2 separate regions of the Homo sapiens genome follow, and region 1 is linked to region 2. The links are contacts of gene promoters, found by promoter capture Hi-C in blood cells and fetal thymus (Javierre and others, 2016). All regions are on one chromosome and are shown on one strand. Each heading gives the region's core, a stretch centred on a gene start or on the middle of the fragment in contact. The rest is flanking DNA. Distances are from core to core; before and after follow the strand shown.

Region 1 (2,700 bases), core at 41-2,540, 190 kb after region 2:
ACTATTGTGAAGTTAAGCTTCAGGTCTTCAGAGCTCAAGAAGGGAAGGCTCGAGCCAGTCAAGTAGCTCTTCCCTTTTCATCCCTTTGGTCAGCATATGCTGGGTTTATTCAGTTGAGTAATGAAGCCTTTTGGGTAACTGGTGTTTTACCCGTGTCTTTAAGGTTTATGTATTTTTTCCTTTGTTAGAGACCCTTTCATGGTCACTATGTGGAATTATCCTTGCCTACAAGTTCATCCTACTGTCATTGATTCTTCTTTGGATCACTCTAAATAATTCCCGTTCTCCTTAGAGAATTCTCAACTAGGTTTTTCAAGTCATGCAACAACATGCCAAGGGAAATCTTTGCCTGACTAATAGACTTGGAGTAATGATGGTTATAACCTGTTGAGATTTTTAAAAAGCTATTGAAGAGTCTAGCCAAGCCTATTGGCTAAAAACTGGGTCGTGTGGCTCTGAATGGGGAGAGGGAACTGACAGCTGCCCTACTCTGGCTATAGAATGTCCGCCATTAAGGACAGATCTTATTTAACATTTTACAATTGAAAACTGTCCCTGGTTTTCAGATAATGCTTAAAACAAACAAAAAACAAACAAAAAGAACAACAACAACAACAACAACAAAAACCCCACCCAACTCAAAACATTAAAGAATGAATATGCCACCCCTGTTCCTGTAAGTGGAACCAGCCGTCCACGCTTCATAGCTTTTGTCTAGTCCCTTGAACAAAAGTTCAGCTGCACTGTGAAGTCCCACATCTCTGCTCCTCAGCTAGCTAACCCTCATGTGGCTGCTCCCCTTGGCTCTGACACTCATTTCAGCCCTGTTTCAGAGCCCCTTTGGTACCTGCTTCTGCACTTTAGACTACTGCACCCATGACTCTGCAGTTCACCCAGGCCTCATTGCACCTTTTCTTCCAGGTATGAATATGCTCTCTGGGCCGACCCTGGTGTAGTGGGGCCAGGATCCAAACCTGCCTGGCTAGCTCTGTTCACCTCTCCATCAGGGAAGGGGGATCCAACAAAATGTGGCAGCACTCTTAGTAGGACAAAACAGTACTAAACAAGAGCTTTTGCCAGTCATTCTTACCTCTTAGTGCTTCATTTTCCTTATTTGTATGAAACCTTCATAATAAATACTTGTCTTGGTTACTTCACAGGTTCTTACGTAAATCAGATGATTCTTGCATAGATCAAGTGAGGTAATGGAAGGGAAAGCACCTTAAAAAGAGTAAAGCGTAGCATTTTGTTATGGGAATTTTCCAAACCATTTTTTGAAGCCTGTTACCTCTTGAACTAGCAAGTGTCAAATGAATCTTCCTGCAGAAGTTCTCAGACCACATGGTGTCAGTGATGAGCTTTAATGACTCTCTGGCTCCCCTTGCCCACCAGGGGCCTCTTCCCTGCCTCTCCAACCTTTGCTCTTGCATCTGCCCATTCAGACCTCAGGGCCAGCCTAACCAGGCTCCGTATTGTTCCTGAGCACTCCCTTTCCTCTTCTGTCCTTGTGTGGCTGTGCTTTATCTTTTCTGACATGAATGCCACCTAGTTCGCCATCTCCTGTGAAAAGGCCTCCCATTCTTCAAATGTAAACTGTCATTTTAGATGTGTATTAGGTATCTCTCACTGTGTAACAAATAGCCACAAACTTAGTGGCTTCAACCAACACATTTATTATCTCACAGTTTCTGTAGGTCAGGAATCTGGATAGGGCCCTTCTGGGTCCCCTACTTCAGAGTTCCTCACAAGGCTGTAGTCAAGGTGTCAGTTTTCTGAAGGCAGACTGGGGAAAGATCTGCTTCCAGGCTTTTGTGATTATTGGCCAGATCCAGTTCCTTGTGGGCTCTTGGACTGATGACCTCAGCTCCTTGCTGCCTCCGCTGCCTGCTCCATGGGCCTCTCTATGTGGCCGCATGCTTTATCAGATCCAGAGAGTCAGCTGGCACGATGGAAGTCACGGTCTTATGGAAGCTAATCATGGAAGTGACAGGGCATCATCTCTGCAATATTTCGTTGGTTAGAAACAAGTCCCAGGTCCCGCCCACACTCAGGTAGGGGTGATCATACAGGGCATGAAGACCAAGAGGGTGGGGGATTATTGGGGACCATAGTAGAGTCTGCTTGTCACAGATGGTTCCTCTATCAGCCTTTACTTATTTCTTCCAACCAAGTGTGTGATCTTTTCCTTTTGTGAGTCTTCTTTATAACAACGTATTTTTTCCAGTTTACAATTCATGGCTGGTGTTTTTACAATTGACTTAAAAACTTTTTTCTCATGTAACCGTTTTTGCTCATCTTTAATCATCCACTTGCAACCCCACAACAGTCTTGTATTTAGCAACTGTTGTGCAGAAGGCACTCCTTCTTTCCACCCTTTGAAACTAAAGAAGGACCAAGCCAGTTGCTCTCATGTTTAATTCCTGAGTATTTTTCTCCACAATAGCCATATAGCATCCATTGTAAAACCTTCAGATTTGCCAATTTGGCATCAAAAGCAGTGACTCATTCATGTCTATGTAACCTGGCTGGAGTGGTCCATGTTAGCCTGATTTGCACTTAGAGCTGAAGCTTGTTACCTTGTAAAAGAGAAGCAATTTTCCATCAAAGATGCATCAAACATTAGCTGTTTCTGAGTAGTGCATTGTTGTGTTTTTCCTAGGGGCCTTCGTGGATCTCAGAAATGATGCTATCTGTAAAAAT
Region 2 (2,700 bases), core at 201-2,700:
AGGGCGCTCTGACAGTGCCAGCAGAGGGCTACTCTCACTACAGGGGGCATGGTGGCCAGCAGATGATCGATGTCCCCTGGACTTGTGGGTGTAACCTTCCTTCTCTGCTCCCACAAACCCATGATCTCCTCTCAATCCCCCCACCAGCTGGCCAATAGGGGCCAGTGCTGCTAGTTCAGCTACGGTTCAGGGGTGGGTGAGACACCACCAAGCCTGTTTCTGCTTCTCCAGAAGAAGCCAGGTGGGTTCAACCAGGCTGAGCCGTTTCTGACCTTGCCAAAGTTCCCCGATCACGTTATCCTTCGCTTTCTTTGTCTGTAAAGTGGGATAATAAAGGGGGCGGCTGGCAAACGCCTAGCACAACTTGAGCAAAGGCGGCTCGCGCGCCTCCGAAGGCCGGCTGGGCGGCGGGCGGTCCCGGGCCGGGCTGGGGCTGGGCGTCGGGTGGGCCGTACTCACCGCCGCCAGGGGGCGCCGCACTAACATCCCAGGCCGCTCATGGAGCCGATTCGGTCCAGCTTGAGGCCGAAGCAGCCCTTGGACAAGCCCTTCTTGTTGGCTCCTTTGTATTTGCGCGCGTTGGGGTGCTCTTGCAGAAGGCGAGCCCACGCTGCCCGCGACTTGGTGTCCACGCGCAGGTCCCGGAGCAGTCGCGACCGGTCGCCCTTGAGATTGGCGCCCCCGCCCCCGGGAGCCTTGTCGCCCTTCTTCTGACCGCCGCCCGCAGCCTGCGGCTCGGCCAGCTCCTCTGCCGGCGGGGTTCGCGGGACCTGTCCGAGGAAAGAGCGGGCAGGTGAAGGGACACGCGGCTGCAGCACGGGGGACTCTGATGCTCCAGCCCCACGCGCCCGCCGGCGCGGGGTGTCCCTCCCAAGCCCAGAGCCGCCCCCACCGATGCCGGCCAGCTTGGCCCCGCATCCACCTGCCACGCGGCCGCCTTCGCCGCTCCCTCCGGAAGCCCCCTGCCCTCCCTTTGCTGCTCGCCGGGCAGGCCACACTGGGGTAGGGGGCTGCGCATGGGCCGATGTTCTCCGGAGGCTGGAGAAGTGGACCCCCGAATCCGCGCTTCGAGGGCTCCCCGGCTCTCGCCCACGCGCATCTCGGAGGAGACAGCCGCCTGCCTTCCCTCTCTCCTGGGTCCTGCGCGCCGCATTCTCCAAGCCCCCAGCCTCCCACGCCTCTCCCAGGCTCGGCGTCCCCACGACAGCACCCACCTTCGGCGGCGCCCCGGGCTTGGCTTCGGAGGGCCGGAGGGAGAGCAGCGTGAGCAGCAGGGCGCAGGCCAGCAGCTGGGAGAGATGCATGGTGCCGCTGGGGTCGAGGGGCGCACACGGGCGGCAGCGAGGGCGCGCAGGTCGGCGGGCAGACCAGCAGGGGGATGCGGAGCAGGCTGGCTGGGCTGCAGGGCGAGCAGGGTCCCAGTGCTGCGCGGCGCCGGCTGGGTGCGCTCTGAGCCCGTGACTCTGCTCGCGCCTTTATAATCCAACCTGCCGCTGATGTCATCCTCCCGCCCACCGGGCCGCCCGGGCCAATGACACCACGCACGCGGCCGCGCCGAGGGCCGGGAGGGGGCCGCGGGGGCTCCCCTCCCTTATCCCACCCCGGAGGGATCCCGCGGCTCGGCGGGCTCGCTCCAGGCTGCACTTGGAGCTGCAGAGCTGAGCGCACAGGGGAACTCCATTTGCAGCGAGCGCGCGCCCTGGCCTGCCGAGCATCGGTGCGCCTGGTGCCCTGTGCACCCACTAGGTCCTCATCGCACTCACTCTACCTGGAAGGGATACGTAGCCCTCTTTGCAGGTGCAAAGACAGGCTCAGAGGAATGAAGTCACTTGCCCAAAGTCATACAGGCATAAAGTTGGCGCTGCCCGAAATCCACGCAGCCCTGCTTGTCGCCAAACTCTTCCCTGGGCACCTGACAGCCGCGGGATGGCATTGCAGCTCCGCCTTTCACCTGCCGGTCAGGGCGGGAGCGCAGACCACAGCGACGTCGTTAGGTTGGGGAGGCAGAGGATGGGGTTGGAGGACTGGGGTGGGAGGCGCAGGGAGAGCGGGGTTCGCCTGGGCCGCAGGGGGGAGCGCAAGTCTTCCACACTGGAGAGTGCAGGGGTGTCGCCAGCCTGAGTGTTTGAGCGCAAGGCGGGAACGAGGGGACTGCGAGCGCGGAACCAAGATATTCATGCTCATGCGTGTGCTCCGCGGCATCGTATGCTCGCCAGTTACTGCTCTAGGTTCACGTTCAGCCGGTTTCGGCCACACAGAACGTCCCGGGGTCTGACTCCGCTGGTGAACTCCCTCTGTGGGAACAATGCGCACCTGACCTTGCCTGCACCCACGCGAGGATCCGCTGCTGGGGGAAGCCCGCTCCAGTATCCTGTGCACTTTCACAGGCTGGGGAGAGAGCTTCCTAGCCAGCGGCCCAGTCCAGCCTCTGCCAGCCGTGACAGGTGGTCAACTTCCCGTTTTTGACTGTAGAGAGGTCCCCGTGGCTCTCGGGACATGGCCACATATCCCTACCACTCACGAACTTGCTCTCCTTGCACTGGGCTTCTCGGTCCCTTGGACACTAAGGAGTGTGGTGGGCATTTGGGCACTGCGGTGTGGGCCGCAGAGGCGGAGAGCCCAGATCCCCCGAATTGATTGAAGAGCAGGAATCTATGACTGGCTGCTGCTGAGCAGGACGCAGGCTGGAGAGAGAACAAA

Evidence for each region. Contacts are between HindIII fragments. The CHiCAGO score rates a contact against its expected background, and 5 or more counts as called.
Region 1: a fragment that was not itself captured here is called in contact with the fragment with the promoter of NPPC in region 2 in 1 of 17 cell types (endothelial precursors); the score reaches 7.0 in endothelial precursors.

The regions. Positions count from the first base shown.
Region 1 is chr2:232,116,233-232,118,932 of GRCh38, forward strand. The region is part of intron 6 of DIS3L2 (DIS3 like 3'-5' exoribonuclease 2); the gene reads left to right. Among named protein-coding and RNA genes, the nearest start is that of MIR562, 55 kb to the right of the region's middle. The HindIII fragment of the contact is 2,551 bases long and covers 16-2,566 here.
Region 2 is chr2:231,924,946-231,927,645 of GRCh38, forward strand. It overlaps NPPC (natriuretic peptide C), which reads right to left and starts at 1,451. Exons shown (of 3, transcript NM_024409.4): 1 at 1,215-1,451; 2 at 460-770. The coding sequence starts at 1,304. The coding sequence ends at 480. RefSeq lists silencers at 345-434, 515-564, 1,520-1,739 and an enhancer at 2,141-2,700. The HindIII fragment of the contact is 15,333 bases long and covers 1-2,700 here.